2 separate regions of the Homo sapiens genome follow, and region 1 is linked to region 2. Evidence: promoter capture Hi-C in 16 types of primary human blood cells and fetal thymus (Javierre and others, 2016). All regions are on one chromosome and are shown on one strand. The core of a region is centred on a gene start or on the middle of the fragment in contact, and the rest is flanking DNA. Distances in the headings are between cores, read along the strand shown.

Region 1 (2,982 bases), core at 206-2,705, 580 kb before region 2:
GTCAGTGTAAATATTAGGCTGACGCGGGAGGATTGACTGAGCCCAGGAGTTCAAGACCAGCCTGGAAACCAAAGTGAGACCTCCTCTCTATAAAAAGTTGAAGAATTAGCCAGGTGTGGTGGCATGCACCTGTGGCCTCATCTACTCGGAGGCTGAGGTGGGGGGATTGCTAGAGCCCAGAAGTTTGAGGCTGTGGTGGGCCATGATGGAGCCACTGCACTCCAGCGTGGGTGACAGAGTGAGAACCTGTTTCAATAAATAAATAAATAAATTATTTTCAACCATTTAAAATATCAATGACAGATTTATTTGGCCTTTTAAGTGCATTGCTAAATTCTCCTCCAATCTACTTCTAAATCTAAAGCAGAGCCTGCTTTAGAAAGAGAAGAGGAAAATGTATTTCAATTTAGAAAAGGGAAGTCTTTTACAATATTCTTAATTCACATTATGGTGAAGCAGTATACACAATAGCAGGCTCCCCTCTTCCTGTGGGTTTTACCTTGAAAGGGGCTGCCAGAACAGAACTTTCAGGGAAGGGGCCAGAGCCCTGGGGACTTTCCTCAGGTGATGGTGATGGAAGAAGAGGCAAGGCAGGACAGGAGGGCTCAGGTAAGGGAGACTATGCAGGTGCAGGGGCAGGAGGAAAAGGAGCAGTTGGAGGCGAAAGAGACAAAGCCTCCTCAATATTTCTCAATTCAGAAAAAGCATCAGATATCCCCAGTTTAAATCCTCAATGGAGGCAATTTTCTCAGTAGTTCTTTTAGAAATTTCTAGGTATCATTGGAAGTAAGTCTCCCATTCAATTTGCCTGATTCTAAAACCAAATTTTTCCAATTGTGTGCCCTAATAAATTATTTTAGTCATTTCAAAAGATCCCCATTTTCTCCATTCTACTTATGAGTTTTTCTGGTTAGGTGGGTCAGGTTTCTTGGATATTTACAAGAGGATGCTTCATAACTGTTATACAGAAACTCAGCTGGTGGTTCTAAACGCGGTTGTTTCTTCAAAGTATGCTCAGATTTTGAAGCTTGATTTCCCATAATTCAGGAGCTTTGCAAAGATGACCAAAATCTGGGATGTGTTTTGGGTCACAGTGTCCTGCTTATGTAGTCACTCCTACAGATATCACCGGAGTTGTGTATCACTGTCTCAGTGGCTCCCACTGTTTCTAACCACCAGGTGGCCACAGAGTGCATCTGCTCTGGGGGACCCATCGCTCATATACCCTCCCATAAGAGCAGGAAAGGGGATTCATAAAGACGTTCTTCTGATGGGGAATGCTCTACGAGGCCGCCTTCACATGGTGAGTAGTGACCGTGACACCTCTGCAGCGTCCCTGGTCACTTGTAGCCCCTGAAAGGGTCATCGGGAGCAGATCACTTCTTTTCTTCAGGGCTGGAGAAAGTACCTCCGTGCATTTTCCAGGTAAGAACTAACAGGGGCCGGGCACATTGGCTTACGCCTGTAATCTCAGCCCTTTGGGAGGCCGAGGTGGGCAGATCACCTGAGGTCAGGAGTTTGAGACCAGCCTGAACAACATGGAGAAACCCTGTATCTACTAAAAACACAAAATTAGTTGGGCGTGGTGGCACGTTTGTAAAACCAGCTACTTGGGAGGCTGAGGCAGGAGAATCACTTGAACCTAGGAGGCGGAGGTTGCGGTGAGCCGAGATCCCGCCATTGCACTCCACCCTGGGCAACAAGAGCAAAACTCCATCTCAAGGAAAAAAAAAAAAACTAACAAGAATTAGTCACAAGTGAAAACCTAAGTTCAAACTTTCATAAAAGCATGCTACAGAAAACAAAACCACCGGTGCCTACCTGCCAATATCTTGACCCAGACCTTCCTGATGAGGGACAGAGGCAGAAAAGGCAGAAGCTTTCCACACAGTCCTTTGCCTGACTGTGACCCAAACTTTCTGTCCTGAGGCAGAGGTGGAAAGGGCAGTTTTTTCCCCCTGAAACTCAAGTCTCTTAACTGGAGGGTAAAGACAGAAAACCTCCATTGTAGAAAGGGAAGGCTGGAAAGGACAACTCAAGCAAACTCCAGGCCTTCAACCAAAGAGTGGGAAGGTCCAGATTTCAGGAGGATTCACCACTTACTGCCCATCTGTTTCTCTGAGTCAGAACGTGAGGATTTCAAAGCTGGCCAGGCACCTAGTCCAGGAGGAATGTGGTCTGAGAGACAAAAATAGATGTCACCTTGTAGACTAAGACAGACTCTAAGGTTAAGAAAACAAGAGTTACCTACGGGTCAAGGATTCAGGGCTGGACTGGCATAGCAACTTCCTAAATTTCTGTGGCTAGAAGAAAAACCACACTCTTGCTAAACTCCTTAACAATAGGAGCTAGCAGGCAAATTGTCAAAATCTTCCCAGCAATTCTCAACTGGATTTACAACCCAGATCACCAGACCTCTGATGGGACAGAGGAGTGCCCTTCCATTCTTTCCTGATAAGCAACTGCAGACCTCAAGCCAGTTTCAGCCATGTTACAGGGACTGCACACAAACCGACTTCATGTCCTATAGTTCACCTTTTGACATAAAGAGCCAATTTCCATCTAATTTTAATGCTAAAATCTCTTCCCAATGTGAAGATGGGGTGCACGTTACATATATGTTTACCCGTTGCACATGAGCTCAACACCCCTCAGAAATGGCGTTTCTCCAAACCTGCTGAATATGTATAACTCCATTGTGTGATACACACCGTGTGAGGCACAAAAACCAACCTGCCCTCTCTCTCTCTCTCTCTGAAGAGAAAGCACCTCTTCAAAGACACACACCGGAGACTGTCTCTTCCTGGACTGCAAACTGATCTCACCAATCAAATTCTTACTACTATGTAGCCACCCTGGAGGCCTTTGAGAGGACAGTCAGATGGTCAGAGATGAGTCGCTCTGCATTCTGCTCCCTGGGCCAAAAACGTCGACCTAGAAGGAAGGGGCTTAAGCACAAACATGATTTAAAAAGTTTGTTTG
Region 2 (2,707 bases), core at 197-2,696:
GGGAATGCAGCCCAGTAGGTCTCAGCCTCATTTTACCCAGCCGCTATTCAAGATGGAGTCACTATGGTTCAAATGCCTCTGACAGAATCACCTTCTAAAAGTCCTATGTCCAAATGCAGTCACTTAGTGGGTACGAATTTGGCGGGGGACACAACTGAGTCCATAGCAAACAGTATTCGATTTTTAATCACATCAGCACACACAATAAGACTCTGAAAAGTGAGTCCCTTGGCTGGGCTAGGGAGAAAATTGTGACAATATGTAGTGTTCCAAAATGACCCTCCTCCCTGCATCAGGGAGGGGAGCACTCAGAACCTTCCAGCTTGGTGAACAGAATTTGTTCTCAGGCCAGGAGCCATGCTCTGTAAGTATGTTGTCTTTACATCTGGCCCAGTTTGATCTTTGGAGATAGACACATAGTGGGTCCCAGATTGTGTCCTGTTGCAAAGATCTGGAAACACAGGCTTGGGATACCTGTATATCAACAGAAACCAGACTAGCAGGTGGTAAGGCTGGCATTGTTCTGTGTTCTTAGGTTTTTTTTTGTTTTTTTTTTGTAGACGGAGTCTTGCGCTGTTGCCCAAGCTGGAGTCGTGTGGCGCGATCTCGGCTCACTGCAAGCTCCGCCTCCCGGGTTCACGCCATTCTCCTGCCTCAGCCTCCTGAGTAGCTGGGACTACAGGTGCCCGCCACCACGCCTGGCTAATTTTTTTTTTTTTTTTTTTTTGTATTTTTAGTAGAGACGTGGTTTCACCGTGTTAGCCAGGATGGTCTCGATCTCCTGACCTCATGATCTACCCGCCTCGGCCTCCCAAAGTGCTGGGATTACAGGCGTGAGCCATGGCGCCTCTTAGGTTCTTAATCACTGGGACACCCACAGGCAAGGCCTGGCTTTTTCCACAAGAAGTATTCTGGATGGAAGTAAACACATCAGTGACCTGAAAGTTCTACATGATTACAATGACTTAAGCTTGAGAATTTTTTTAAAAACAGAGAAGGGAGTAGTAAATGACTAAATATAAAGCACCTAGTGCTGTGTTTCGCAAATGGCAATCACTCGGCAGGTGTCTCAGCTCCTCGCTGCAGCAACCAGGCTTCCAGGACTGGAAGGAAGTCTTCTACATTCAAAACTAGACTCAAACTACTCCCCTCCACCACCCAGTTCTACTCCTGCGCTCGCGATCCTCCTGCCTGGCAAACTCCATGGCCCGACAGATTCACTACCACTCCACTGCCGGACCAGGCACGTCCGTGGGCCATCCACGCCTGGAAAACGGCTGGCTGGGCCGGAGGGGCGAGGCCCGCAGGCGAGGGGGGCGGGTACAAGCCACTTCTTGGGAGCCGCGGTACGCGCAGCCTTGTGGGAGTTGTAGTTTCCGCAGCTCTGAGTCTCCAGGCGAGGTGTCACCACAGGACTCGTTTTCCCGTGCTCCTGTGCGCGGGTCCACTTGGGACGGGTCCCTGAGTAGGTGAGGAGGTGGGTAGGAGCTTGCTTATAGAAAAGTGGAATCGAGTAGTCCTTGCTGGTGGAGCCGCTGCCGCCAGGGAACTCAGGGCCGGCTCCTGTTCCTTCAAGAGTGCTGGAGGCCAAACTTGAAATACAAGTTTAATGTTCCTCGTCGGGCAAAAGATAAGGATCCGATCTCCCCCGGCCCGGTGTGCAGCAGGAGCGACCAACCCCGACCCGGGTTAAAACTCCCAGGGACTCTTCGCTGCTGCCACCTCTTGTTCTCTCCCCCGTTCCCACTCGGGGTCTCCCTCAGGGCCGGGAGGCACAGCGGTCCCTGCTTGCTGAAGGGCTGGATGTACGCATCCGCAGGTTCCCGCGGACTTGGGGGCGCCCGCTGAGCCCCGGCGCCCGCAGAAGACTTGTGTTTGCCTCCTGCAGCCTCAACCCGGAGGGCAGCGAGGGCCTACCACCATGATCACTGGTGTGTTCAGCATGCGCTTGTGGACCCCAGTGGGCGTCCTGACCTCGCTGGCGTACTGCCTGCACCAGCGGCGGGTGGCCCTGGCCGAGCTGCAGGAGGCCGATGGCCAGTGTCCGGTCGACCGCAGCCTGCTGAAGTTGAAAATGGTGCAGGTCGTGTTTCGACACGGGGCTCGGAGTCCTCTCAAGCCGCTCCCGCTGGAGGAGCAGGTGAGAGGTCGGCCCGGGCTGGGGCTGGTGGGGCGAGGACCGTGTGCCAGGCCAGGAGTCTCGCCCTGACACACATCTTCAGAGCTTTACTCGCGCGGAGCGGGGCTCGGGTTGGGTCCAGAAGAAGGGAAAACAGCAGTAGCCAGTGACTCCCCAGGCTCTTGAGCAAAGGACCTGCTGGGGTTAGGACAGCCCCGGAACTTCCAGTTTTGCCCTGATGGCGCAGCCATCAGTAAGCGCTGCTTAAGACGCATGGGAGTCGCCTGGGGATCCTGCTACGTTGCAGATTCTGATTCAGCAGGTGTGGAGTAGTGCCCCAGGTCAGCATTTCTATTAAGGGTCTAGGTGAACTTGAATACAAGGGTGCAGTGCACTTCTGTGTGACCATTTTGAAGGTGGTTTGTCAGAGCTGAAGGGCTGAAGGGACTTTAGTGATAGGAACCACTCTTAACTGAGATTACAGTGGATAAGAGGTCGTTGCCTTTGGAAACAAACTTTATAACTGCTTTTTCTCAGGGTTTGCTGGAGGCCATTTGAGATCTCCTGAAGTTTTTTTTTGTAACAAGT

Evidence for each region. The method cuts DNA at HindIII sites, captures the fragments that hold promoters and counts their contacts. A CHiCAGO score of 5 or more calls a contact.
Region 1: a contact is called between a fragment that was not itself captured here and the fragment with the promoter of ACP6 in region 2, in 1 of 17 cell types (naive CD4 T cells). The highest score is 6.3, in naive CD4 T cells.

What each region holds. Positions count from the first base shown.
Region 1 is chr1:148,253,250-148,256,231 of GRCh38, reverse strand. No RefSeq gene overlaps it. Among named protein-coding and RNA genes, the nearest start is that of TRQ-CTG4-1, 10 kb to the left of the region's middle. The HindIII fragment of the contact is 852 bases long and covers 1,030-1,881 here.
Region 2 is chr1:147,669,263-147,671,969 of GRCh38, reverse strand. It overlaps ACP6 (acid phosphatase 6, lysophosphatidic), which reads left to right and starts at 1,446. Exons shown (of 10, transcript NM_016361.5): 1 at 1,446-2,140. The coding sequence starts at 1,922. RefSeq lists enhancers at 984-1,053, 1,494-1,743, 2,384-2,443, 1,655-2,598. The HindIII fragment of the contact is 4,251 bases long and covers 973-2,707 here.